Regions from separate parts of the Homo sapiens genome. Here all the other regions are linked to region 3. Evidence: promoter capture Hi-C in human tissues and cell types (Jung and others, 2019). All regions are on one chromosome and are shown on one strand. Each heading gives the region's core, a stretch centred on a gene start or on the middle of the fragment in contact. The rest is flanking DNA. Distances are from core to core; before and after follow the strand shown.

Evidence for each region. Contacts are between HindIII fragments. The study calls those that stand out against the background at their distance.
Region 1: a contact is called between a fragment that was not itself captured here and the fragment with the promoter of PKN3 in region 3, in 1 of the 25 tissues and cell types used here (dorsolateral prefrontal cortex).
Region 2: a contact is called between a fragment that was not itself captured here and the fragment with the promoter of PKN3 in region 3, in 1 of the 25 tissues and cell types used here (aorta).

What each region holds. Positions count from the first base shown.
Region 1 is chr9:128,342,535-128,346,606 of GRCh38, reverse strand. SLC27A4 (solute carrier family 27 member 4) reads right to left here. Exons shown (of 13, transcript NM_005094.4): 2 at 3,314-3,480; 3 at 1,058-1,452. The coding sequence starts at 3,474. It also overlaps the pseudogene TMSB4XP4. Among named protein-coding and RNA genes, the nearest start is that of SLC27A4, 4.0 kb to the right of the region's middle. The HindIII fragment of the contact is 5,235 bases long and covers 1-4,072 here.
Region 2 is chr9:129,038,937-129,043,181 of GRCh38, reverse strand. MIGA2 (mitoguardin 2) reads right to left here. Exons shown (of 16, transcript NM_001329990.2): 2 at 2,492-2,730; 3 at 668-878. The coding sequence starts at 2,587. Among named protein-coding and RNA genes, the nearest start is that of MIGA2, 4.4 kb to the right of the region's middle. The HindIII fragment of the contact is 5,202 bases long and covers 1-3,902 here.
Region 3 is chr9:128,700,897-128,704,759 of GRCh38, reverse strand. PKN3 (protein kinase N3) reads right to left here and starts at 2,257. Exons shown (of 22, transcript NM_013355.5): 1 at 1,821-2,257. The coding sequence starts at 1,844. RefSeq lists an enhancer at 1,441-1,980 and a silencer at 1,795-2,364. The HindIII fragment of the contact is 13,608 bases long and covers 1-3,863 here.

The DNA.
Region 1 (4,072 bases), core at 561-3,060, 360 kb after region 3:
CCTCAGCCTCTGAGTAGCTGGGACTACAGGTCCATGTCACCAAGCCTAGCTAATTTTTTAAAAACTTTTTTTAGGCCGGGCGTGGTGGCTCATGCCTATAATCCCAGCACTTTGGGAGGCCGAGGCGGGTGGATCACGAGGTCAGGGATTGGAGACCAGCCTGACCAACATGGTGAAACCTCGTCTCTACTAAAAATACAAAAAAATTAGCTGGGCGTGGTGGCGGGTGCCTGTAATCTCAGCTACTCAGGAGGCTGAGGCAGGAGAATTGCTTGAACCCGGGAGGTGGAGGTTGCAGTGAGCCGAGATCACGCCACTGCACTCCAGCCTGGGCGACAGAGCAAGACTCTATCTCAAAACAACAACAACAAAAAAAACAAAAAAAAACAAAAAACTTTTTTTAGTAGGCCAGGTGTGGTGGTTCATGCCTATAATCCCAGCACTTTGAGAGGCAGAGGTAGGTGGATCGCTTGAACTCAAGAGTCTGAGACCAGCCTGGGCAACATGGCAAAACTGAGTATCTACAAAAAATGTGAAATTTAGCCAGGCATGGTGGTGCATGTCTGTGGTCCCAGCTATTCAGGAGGCTGAGGTGGAGGGACTGCTTGAGCCTGAGAGGTCAAGGCTGCAGTGAGCTGTGACTGCACCACTGCACTCCAGCCTGGGTGACAGGGCAAGACCCTGTCTCAAAAAAATTTCTTAGTAGAGACAGGGTCTTACTATGTTGCCTAGGCTGGTCTCAAACTCCTGGGCTCAAGGGATCCTCCTGCCTTGGCCTCCCAACATGCTGGGATTACAGCTGTGAGCCACTATGCCCAGTCTGAAGTACCTTTTTGAAAACAGTATGAGGTAGGAACGACGGATGAGGAAACTGAGGCTCAGAGAAATCAGTCCCTTCCCCAGGATCTCGTTTACTCGTGGCACTGCCTAAGCTGTCTGACTCCACTCTGTGCCCTTAACCACTGACCCACACAGCCTTGGCAGGGCTGGAAGGGAGCTGTGGTCTGTGTAAGATCCCATGGGGTTCCTGCTTGTCCCCCGCCCCCTTGGGGCTCACCTGAGGCCATTTCGCTGCCAAAGACAAGGGCCCGTGCGCGCGAGGTGGTGAGGCAGTGGAGCAGAGCATCCCGCCGCAGGTTGGTGTTGATGAGGGCTGCCTCCACACCGAGCTTGGCCATGCCCAGCCATAGGCCCACGAACTCATTGCGGTTCTCCATGAAGATGGCAGCCACATCGCCCGAGGCCAGGCCCCGGGCCTGCAGGAAGTTGGCTACACTGCTTGAGTACTCATCCAGCTGGCGGAAGGTCCAGTGGGTATCTGTGCCCTCGAAGATCAGGGCCGTCTTGTCGGGGTGGCGCCGAACGGTAGAGGCAAACAAAATGGGCACTGTCCGCCGCTCCTGCAGGCACTGTCGCACCTTTGCCTTCACCTTCAGGAGGACCAGGCCGCCACTGTGTGTGAACAAGAGAGGGCGCTGTGTCTGCCATGGTTGGGAGGGAGGGGTCCTGACACCCTACCCCAGGCTGCTGCCTCGCCAGCCTATGCTTCATGAGCCAGACCCCCTACAACACTTCTATCTCCTGGCTCCTGCTGGGAACATGCACTGCCTTACTGATGCCTCTCAATAACACTGAGAGTTCGTATGATTCCCCTCCCCTTACACAGAAGGAAATCAAGGCTCTCGTGGTGCCGTGGCCTGCTCAAAGCTTCATGGATGGAGGGTGGCTGAGCTGAGATTTGAACTCTAGGCCTCTCTGGCTCCAGAGTTCTACTCCTACCCTCTCAGCCTGCTGCTCCAGCAGAAACCTCCTAGGTCTCCAGAGCTTCCTGTAAAAGTCCAAACTCCTTGTTTGGGGCCTCCCACAGTCCAGCTGCTCCCTCGACCCACCATGACCACAGTAAATAATGAATGAGTTTGCTGGTCTGTCCAGTCTTCCTCCCTGTGAGCCTAGCTGGGATAGGCTTCTGTCTTATTCAACACTCTATCCCCTGGGTCCTGTGCCAGGCAGAGTAGATGTTCAATAAGTTTGTGGAATCACTTGGCAACATCCCATTCCTGCCACCTTTGTTTTTTTGTTTTTTTTTTTGAGATGGCGTCACACTCTGTCACCCAGGTTGGAGTGCAGTGATGCAATGTCAGCTCATTGCAACCTCCACTTCCCAGGCTCAAATGATGCTCCCACCTCAGCCTCCCAAGTAGCTGGAACCACAGGTGTGCACCACCATGCCTGGCTAACTTTTTTGTATTTTGGTAGGGACGGGGTTTTGCCATGTTGCCCAGGTTAGTCTCAAACTCCTGAGGTCAAGTGATCCACCCACTTCGGCCTCCCAAAGTGCTAGGATCACAGGTGTGAGCCACTGCGCCCAGCCCTGGACTCCATGCCTTTGTTGCTGATGCTGTGCCTTCTGGTTGGATTCATCTCCTTCCACCACCACTAAGGCGCCTCTCAAGTACAGCCGCTTTTTCTCCAGGAGGCCTTCTCTGATTCCCAGGGTCCTGGCTGGCAGCTGTTTCTCCTTGCTCCATGCTCCCACAGCTACCACCCTTCCTGGTGTGCCACTCCGTGCCTTCTTTTGCAATCAACCAAGATTGACAAATGCTGAGCTGCCTGTGTGGGGTGTGGGTCACTGAACTGGGTGCTGGGACACAGTAGTGAGCAAGGCTGTGCCAGGGTCTCTGCCCACATGGCACTGCCAATTTACAGATGTGCTGTGTCCCTTTCTTTCTCCTGACCAATCTGAGCTTGGCAGATGGGGTCTGCCTTATTCCTCTCTGGACCCCAAAGCTAGCCTGGCACCTAGTAGAGAACAAGCGGGAATAGATATTTCTGGTACAGGATGTCCCTTGGAGCATACCGGGCTTTCTTTGGGGAGCAGGTTATCCCAGACATCTGAGTAGGGGCTCTGCTCTAGAACTCAGTGCCCCCTGTGCCATCTCACACCCCTGCCAACCTGAGGGCAGGGCCTTTCCCCAAAATTCCTCTTTACCCTTTCATAAACTTACAGAGTCCTCAGGACCCCTTGCAGATGTCTCAACACACTTGGTGTTCAATGTACGTCCTAGGCCAAGCCTGCCCAAGGCCTGGGAGCCTCAAGTTAGGGAGATTCCCTGGGAGAAGACTTTGACCTTGGAGATGGAGGGACCAGGTACTATTGCCAGGGTACGGGTGTGGAGCAGAGGCTGCTGTTCTGGAACTCAGCTCAGCTGCCCTGTGCTGGTAGAGAACATGAGGTCTGGCCTGGGGAGATTTGGGGGACCAGAAGCTCACTGTAGTGTGGCAGACCCCAGGAAAGGCTGGGCCAGGTACTCACAAGATATCGCGCCTGATGGTCTTGATGAAGACCCGGATGAAGCGCCAGCCGCCAGATCCCAAGTAGAGGAACAACAGGGAGAATCCCACCTGGGTCCAGGGCAGTTTCAGCACCAGCTTGGAGAACAGCAGCACCCCCACCAGAGAGGCTCCAAGCAGCATTGTGGCCTGCGGACACAGGGCAGTTAGTGGACCCAAACACCCAACCCTCCAGGTCTCCTACCTCCCAGCCCAGACAGCCAGGCCACTGTGATCCCAAGGGGACAGCCTGTGGTAAGGCTTAGCCATACTGAGTTGGGTGACTGACCACAGGGGTCCCTTTCCAGGCTTGGCCTGGAAGGGGCAGGCTAGGGGCTTGGCACTTGAGGTGAGGAATTCCAAGAGTGAGAAGCAGGAGGCTGGTTCTCGTCTCATAGTCCCATCTCTGCCCACCATTCTCCAAGTGACCTTGGGCAAGACCTTTTCACATTTTAGACCTTAGTATCTGCCCTCTGTGCAATGGGTGTAGTGAGACGTGTTCTTTTTTTTTTTAAGTTTTTAAACTTTTTATTTGCATATTAAAAAAACTGTGCATTCCAATAATTAAAATCATTTGAACAAAAAAAAAAATGGCACTCTGATTAAACTGCATTACAGCCTGCAGGACACCTTGGGCCAGCCTGGTTTTACTCTAGATTTCACTGTCGTCCCACCCCACTTCTTCCTTCACCAACAAGCAAGTTCTTTCCTTCCCTGCCAGCCAGATAGACAGATGGGAGAG
Region 2 (4,245 bases), core at 52-2,551, 340 kb before region 3:
CGCTCTGTCACCCAGGCTGGAGTGCAGTGGCGCAATCTCGGCTCACTGCAAGCTCCGCCTCCTGGGTTCACGCCATTCTCCTGCCTCAGCCTCCTGAGTAGCTGGGATTACAGGTGCCCGTCACCATGCCCGGCTAATTTTTTGTATTTTTAGTAGAGACGGGGTTTCACCGTGTTATTCAGGATGGCCTCGATCTCCTAACCTTGTGATCTGCCCGCCTCGGCTTCCCAAGGAGCTGGGATTACAGGCGTGAGCCACCGCGCCCGGCCTAAACCTCAATTTTTAAGAGAGAAGGGAATGGGAGGAATACTGCATCATTCAAGAACCACATGGCTCTTCCTGCTCCTCAGCCTGGGGAACATCCCTCTCTGGACCCAGGAGCCACATCCCCGACCCCCTCTGACCAAGGTGCTCCCAAAGGGTCCTCAGCTAATGAGAACAACCAAAACCACCTCCACCAATGGAGCATGCGCATCCAACCACATCACCCTCCAGTACAGTGACTGGAGGGAGGGACGCTACTGTCATCCCGCTCACAGATCAGGAGACCTTGGCTCTGAGACAGGAAGACACTGGCCCAATATCCCCAAGTAGAGAGTGACCCAGCTGGGATATGACCCCAGGATGTGACCTCAGGTCAGGCCTATGCCCACCACCTCACACCTACCTTTCTTCACTGAAGGGACCTTCCTGGCCAAGAGGATAGGGAGGGGCACCGTGCCCAGCTGCTCCCCTCCCATCTCGGGACCAACCTGCTTCTTCCTCCTCCGTCGCCTCTTCAGCTGGTGGGCAGCCAGGGCCAGGGCCACAGTCCCCAGGGCCGTGGCAAAGAGGACTTTCCGCAGGCCTGGCGTCAACCGTAGCTGGGAGAATGCAGACTGCAGGGAAGAGGAGACGCTGCCGGTTACACCTCCCTGGGGAAGGTCCAAGGCAGCAGGACCGCCCCAGAGCACCTCAGGGACGGGACACACACCGGCTCTCCGGCACATCTGCCGACCAGATGAGAGACTGAGAGGCAGCCACCCTAGACGGGGAAGTTGACCAGCCTCCCTGAAACACAGGCCACAAAAACATAAAGATGGCAAGATGCCAGTGCCGAGAAGGTGAGGTCTAGGGGCCAGCACCCTCAGTCATGAGCACACAAGCCGCAGTGAACAAGCACCAGCTGTGCCCGGCACTGCACTAGGACCTAGCCTGGGGTACCCATCTGAGTCCCTGTCATTTCCAGACGAGGAACCTGAGGTTCACCCACATGAAGACATATACTCAAGGTGACAGAGGCAGACATGAAACCCAGATCTGCTGACCCCCATTTCTCAGTGATGCCTCAAAGATGATGACACTCACTCACCTGCCACCCCATCTGAACAATTCCTACTGCTGCACCTCACCCTCTGCCCCCCAGGCCTGGGAGCCCCTCAGATGGGACTGTACCCCACAAGGCAGATCTTCGGTCAAGATCCCAGTCAGCCACAAACATGTGAGTTGTCAGGGAGGGCACTGACCCCTTTTACAGACTGAGTAACTGAGGTCAAGAGTTCATATAGGACCAGGTGCAGTGGCTCATGCCTATAAACCCAGCACTTTAGGAGGCCAAGGTAGGTGGATGGCTTGAGCCCAAGAGTTCAAGACCAGCCTGGGCAAAATGGCAAGGCCCTATTTCTATTACGAAAAACTTTTTTTTTTTTGAGACGGAGTCTTACCCTGTTGCCCAGGCTGGAGTGCAGTGGTGCGATCTCGACTCACTGCAACCTCCGCTTCCTGGGTTCAAGTGATCCTCCCGCCTCAGCCTCCCAAGTAGCTGGGATTACAGGCACCTGCCACCATGCCCAGCTAATTTTTTTTTTTTTGAGGCGGAGTCTCGCTCTGTCGCCCAGGCTGGAGTGTAGTGGCATGATCTCAGCTCATTGCAACCTCCGCCTCCTGGGTTCAAGCAATTCTGTCTCAGCCTCCCAAGTAGCTGGGACTACAGGTGCACACCACCATGCTTGGCTAATTTTTGTACTTTTGGTAGAGATAGCGTTTCACCATATTGGTCAGGCTGGTCTTGAACTCCTGACTTCAGGTGATCCACCTGCTTCAGCTTCCCAGAGTGCTGGGATTACAGGCATGAGCCACTGTGCCCAGCCTACCCGCCTAATTTTTGTATTTTTAGTAGAGACAGGGTTTCACCATGTTGGCCAGGCTGGTCTTGAACTCCTGACCTCAGGTGATCCGCCCGTCCCGGCCTCCCAAAGTGCTGGGATTACAGGCGTGAGCCATCGCACCCGGCCAATACAATTTTTTTAATTAATTAAAAAAAAAAGAGTTCGTATAGTCTCAGGCTAAAGAACAGGCCTGAAGCCTCAGACAACAAACCCAGTCCAAAGAGGAGACACCAGAGGTTTGGCAAAGCAAGAACGAGGGCTCAGCGTTCCTGGACACGGAGGAGCCCTTGGCTGAGCATGGAAGTGTTTCATAGACCAGAGGTACAACCCACCCTGATCCTTACCTGCCCAAACGTCGTGTACAGGAACACGGGGATCTCGGCCACCGTCATGGCCAGGGCCTGGATCATAGACGTGCCCTCGGCCCTCCGGAACGCCATGGCAGGGCCAATGCCCCAGGCAAAGTCCTCAGGGCCAAGAGCTTCCAAGGAGAACGTCTTCAACTGGTTGCCAGCTGGGTCCCAGGCACCATCCACGCCCCAGAAGGACAGGGACACACATACCAGAGGGCCCCTCCACAGAGCTAAGAGACAGATGACCAAGTCAGATAAGAGAACGTGCACACGGGAACATGCAGAAATGCACTCAAGAAGAGCGTCCATGGGGGAGGAGGCAGGAGCAAAGCTTGCCTCTGGAACCCCAGGCCTGGAATCAGGCCCCAGGCCTCTGCATCTGCCCGCCAGCAGGCAGCCCCACACCCACAGACCCTCTGCCTACCAGGGGCCCTGCGAGCGGAAACATCTCTGGCCAGCCAGCCCAGGAGAGGACCCAGAACCTGGGAGGTGGACAGGTCACTCTCAGACTTAGGGCTTTAAGCCACATTTTCTCTACCTTTTTCAACCCATGGACCATTTGCTAAGCAAAAATCTTAGACCCCAGACTGAGAATCATTGCATCTTTTTACCTCCCACAAAGTTAAGAATGTTTTCTTGCTGGGCACGGTGGCTCACGCCTGTAATCCCAGCACTTTGGAAGGCCGAGATGGGTGGATCACCTGAGGTCGGGAGTTTGAGACCAGCCTGGCCAATATGGTGAAACCCCATCTCTACTAAAAAACACAAAAATCAGCTGGGTGTGGTGGCACGCACCTGTAATCCCAGCTACTCAAGAGGCTGAAGCAGGAGAACCGGCTTGAACCTGGGAGGTGGAGGTGGCAGTGAGCCAAGATGGGGCCACTGCGCTCCAGCCTGGGCAAGAAGAGCAAAACTCAGTCTCAAACAAACAAACAAACAAACAAACAAACAAAAAACTAGCTGGGCGTGGTGGTGCACACCTGTAACCCCAGCTACTCAGGAGGCTGAGGCAGAAGAATCGCTTGAACCCGGGAAGCAGAGGTTGCAGTGAGCTGAGATCACAACACTGCACTCCAGCCTGGGCTACAGAGCAAAACTCTGTCTCAAAAAATAATAATAATAATAATAAAATAAAGAAGCTGGGCACAGTGGCTTACGCCTATAATCCCAGCACTTTGGGAGGCCGAGGAGGGAGGATCACAAGGTCAGGAGATCAAGATCATCCTGGCTAACACAGTGAAACCCCATCTCTACTAAAAATACAAAAAATTAGCCGGGCGTTGTAGCGGGCACCTGTAATCACAGCTACGCGGAAGGCTGAGGCAGGAGAATGGCATGAACCCAGGAGGCGGAGCTTGCAGGGAGCCAAGATCGCGCCACTGCACTCCAGCCTGGGCAATAGAGTGAGACTCCATCTCAAAAAATAAATAAATAAAAAACAAAAAAATAAAATAAAATAAAACACACACACACACACACACACACACACACACACACACACACACAAACAAAGAGCTACTCCACGCTACGTATTTTGTGCTGCATTCTTTACATCCATCATCTCACTGAATCATTAGAATTTTGTGAGGTTGGCTGGGGTGGCTCATGCCTGTAATCCCAGCACTTTGGAAGGCTGAGGCGGGCGGATCACCTGAAGTCAGGACTTCCAGACTGGCCTGGTCAACATGGTGAAACCCCGTCTCTACTAAAAATACAAAAATTAGCCAGTGTGGTGGCACGTGCCT
Region 3 (3,863 bases), core at 1,008-3,507:
TTTAGTAGGGACGGGGTTTCTCCATGTTCGTCAGGCTGGTCTTGAATCCTGACCTCAGGTGATCCACCTGCCTTGGCCTCCCAAAGTGCTGGGATTACAGGTGTGAGCCACCACGCCTGTACTATTACCCCTATTTTCTAGTGAGGAAACTGAGGCCCAGAGAGGTGAAGTAACTTGCCCACAGTCAAGACACAGAGGAGGGGCCACCATCTCTCGGGCCCCAGCTGTCCCTGGCAGCCCTGGGTAATCAGGCTGCTCTCTCTACATCTGGGACCCAAAGTAGAGTCCAGGAGCCACAAAAGCTACGCCGAATAGGGGTTCACACGAAGCCACATGAGAAGGCAGCCAGGGGCCTGGGAGCCAGGGCTTGTTCCCCTGATGTCCCAATGCCACAGGTAGCAAAGCAGAGGCACAGAGAGGAACTGGGGAGGTCTCCGGGTGCCCACTCCCTGCTCAGCTCCCGGGAGGAAGTAGAAGGCTCTCTCACGGCTTCACCCAGGTTGGAGCCAGGAACAGGAACACCTCCTTTCCAGCCGCCAGCATTTCAAACCAACCGGTGCCAAAGGTGACCTCAGGCCGGGTAACCCATGATGCCCCGCAACACGGGCTGTTGCAGGAACCCCATCTTACCTCTCTGTGTTCCATCTTCTCCTGAGCCCAGTGGAAGGGGCCGCAACCCCAGACTCAGGGACCCCCCCACCCCAGACCTCAGCGGGGCCTGCTGGCCCAGCTGTCAGAGGGCAAGGGCGAGGCTCAGGAAATCCTCTGACCGCCCTAGGCCACAGGGCCAGAGCCAAAGACCGGAGCAAACAAAGGTCCCATGGAGCTGGGGGCCCGGCCACCGGGGTCCTGAGTCACCCAGCTGCCGCTGCAGGGCGGAGCCCCGCAGGAAATCGGAAAATGTGTACAAGCTACGTCTGGAACAGGCGGAGGGACCTCCAGAGGAAGGGGGTGGGAGGGGGCAGACCGAGCCCCAGCCCTGAAGGCGGCCTAAACGACTGGCTTGGGCGCTCAAGGAGTCTACACGCACCCCGCAACACCCCCATGGTCCCGTCTGCCCTGGGTTGGAACTCCAACATGGACACACACACCACCTCCTTTCCGCTCTTTGCGGGGACCCACTCCTGTCCGCAAATGCCCCCCTCCCAACCACTCGCTCCGGAACAGGACACCACCTCTCCCTCCTCAGGAGCAGATAGACATGGCCTCGGTCCTCCGGGCCCACGCGCACCTACTGCCAGCTCTGGCAGGAAACCCAGCCCCCTCCGCATTCTAGAACCCGCTATGTACCCAAAGGTTCCCGCCCTGGGGCGGGGGAGGCCGCTCCCCTCTCATCTACGCTCCCCTCGTGCCTCCTGTGCTCCGGGAAGGACTCCTGCCACTGCCAAGCGCGCACAGACTGCGCCCCCCGCTGCGCGCACATTCTAACCCCCCCAGGCCCCTGTGCCCCGCCTTTCTATCCCGGCTAATTCCCGTCGGCCTTGGAGCCCCACCGAGGAGAACCGACTTAAGGACACTCTGGGGACCACCCTGGTGGCGCACACTGCGGACTCAGCCGTCCTCGCTCACGGGCTGGTTGGGGTTCAGTCTCCGGGTCAGCCGCGGACTGATTTGGAGACTGTGCAAGGTCCAGGAACCACCGAACCCGGAGATCAGGTCTGCTCTGCGAGGGCGTCGCGGGGCCGGGGCCAGGGCAGGGGCAGGGAAGGGGCGCGGGTGAGGGGAGGATCGGGGGAAGCGGCCGCGGTTCGGGGCTCCGGGGCGATGACAGAGGCTTTCTCGCACCCCCCGGGCCCGCGCGCCCCTCCCACGCCGTTCACCTGCCGCGGCGCCCCCTCCTCCATGGCGCCGCTCCGGCCGCTTGGGGCCCTTCTCTCAGCCACTCCGGTCCCGGAAGCCGCAGACCCTCCGCCAGGACTTTCAAACTTGAAACTTCCCGGGAAGCGGCGCCGGAGACGCGGGATCGGGCGCCCCCTCCCGAGACCCGCTGGCCCGCGGGACCAGCGCCGCCTCCCGTCCGCGCCGATCCAGCGCCCGGGACCCCACGCCCGAGGTCCCGCGCCCCAGCGCCTCCCTCGGATCCAAAATTCCGCGGGATTCTGGGCCCAGTACCCGGGCTTCGGCGCCTGCGGTTCCCGCTGGGCGTGACCGCGCCTCACCCCCGGTTTGGACGCTCAGGAGGCACATCGCCCGCGCCCAGGTCCTCTGGCCTTCCCCGCCGCGCGCCCGCGGGAGCCGGCCAGTTAGGGACAGGGATGGGGGAAACAGCGCCCCCTGAAGGTTGCCGGGTCGCCCAGCCGGGTGCAGCCGGTGGAGCTGGCCGCCTCCTCTAACTTTGAGCCCCTCTACAACCTGGCTCCCGCCTCTAACGCGCTGGGCCTCCTCGACCAAGCCCCTCAAGTCTCTCTTTGTCTCGCACGTTGTTGGTGTAATGTGGGCTAATCCAAAATTGTCTCTCTCCTCGGAGTGGTTGGCCCAGACTAGATATTAGTCACTACAAGAATGTATACTAGGCCAGGTGCGGTGGCTCACGCCTGTAATCCCAGCAGTTTGGGAGGCAGAGGTGGACGGATCACGAGGTCAGGAGTTCGAGACCAGCCTGGCCAACATGGTGAAACCCCCGTCTCTACTAAAAATACAAAAATTAGCCGGTCGTGGTGGCGGGCGCCTGTAATCCCAGCTACTCAGGAGGCTGAGGTGGGAGAATCACTTGTACCCAGTAGGCGGAGGTTGCAGTGAGCCGAGATCCTGCCACTGCCCTCCAACCTGGGTGACAGAGCGAGACTCCATCTCAAAAAAAAAAAAAAAAAAAAAAAAAGAACGTATACTTGTGGAAAAGTAAATCCTCACCCAAAATTATGATAAATTACAAATTACAGATGAATGAACCAGACCTCTCTCCGGCCCATCTCTTACTCAGACTGAGCTTGCTGGTTCAGCCCGTGCCACTTTTTAGGGCTTTACCCTAAAAAGCCCATCCATCCACACGGGAGAAAAGCCATTTACACCTGGTGAAATAGCCGCCACTATTTCAGCCCAAGGGAGGTGTGCTGGTCACTGCCTAGTCTATGGCGGGCCATTCAGCCCGTCCTGGCATCCTGCGTTTACAGGAGGTTGTGTCAGCACTTCGTGGAGGAGCGTCCTCCAGGAGGTGGGAAGGTGATGAAGGGTCAAATACCGACAGTGACTTGGAACAGACAGGCTCTGGTGCTCTTACTGAATGAAGGAAGCCACATGTTGTGCTTTGCACTAATCACTTCCTTCATAATGGACTGGAAAAAAGTGAAATTGGTGAGCCATGGACAACACTGGGTTGTCCTGCTATGGGAAATCACCCAAGTGGCATTGACATATAAGCAAAGGCAACTTGGCTCTGTGAAACATGCCCAGATTTCATAATCAGAGGCGAAATGTGACATTTACACATTAGAGTTGTTGAGGTCTAGACATTAGCAGAAGCACCTGGCACATAGTAGGTTCTTTGACATGGGGGTTGGCTGGGCATGGTGGCTCATGCCTGTAATCCCAGCACTTTGGGAGGCTGAGGAGGGCAGATCACTTAAGGTCAGGAGTTCAAGACCAGCCTGGCCAACATGGTGAAATCCCGTCTCTGCTAAAAAAAAATTAAAAAGGCAGCTGGGCGCGGTGGCTCACGCCTGTAATCCTAGCACTTTGGGAGGCCGAGGCAGGCGGATCACAAGGTCAGGAGTTCGAGACCAGCCTGGCCAACATGGTGAAACCCCGTCTCTACTAAAACTACAAAAAAAAAATATTAGCTGGGCATGGTGGTGGGTGCCTGTAATCCCAGCTACTAGGGAGGCTGAGGCTGGAGAATCACTTGAACCTGGGAAGTGGAGGTTGCA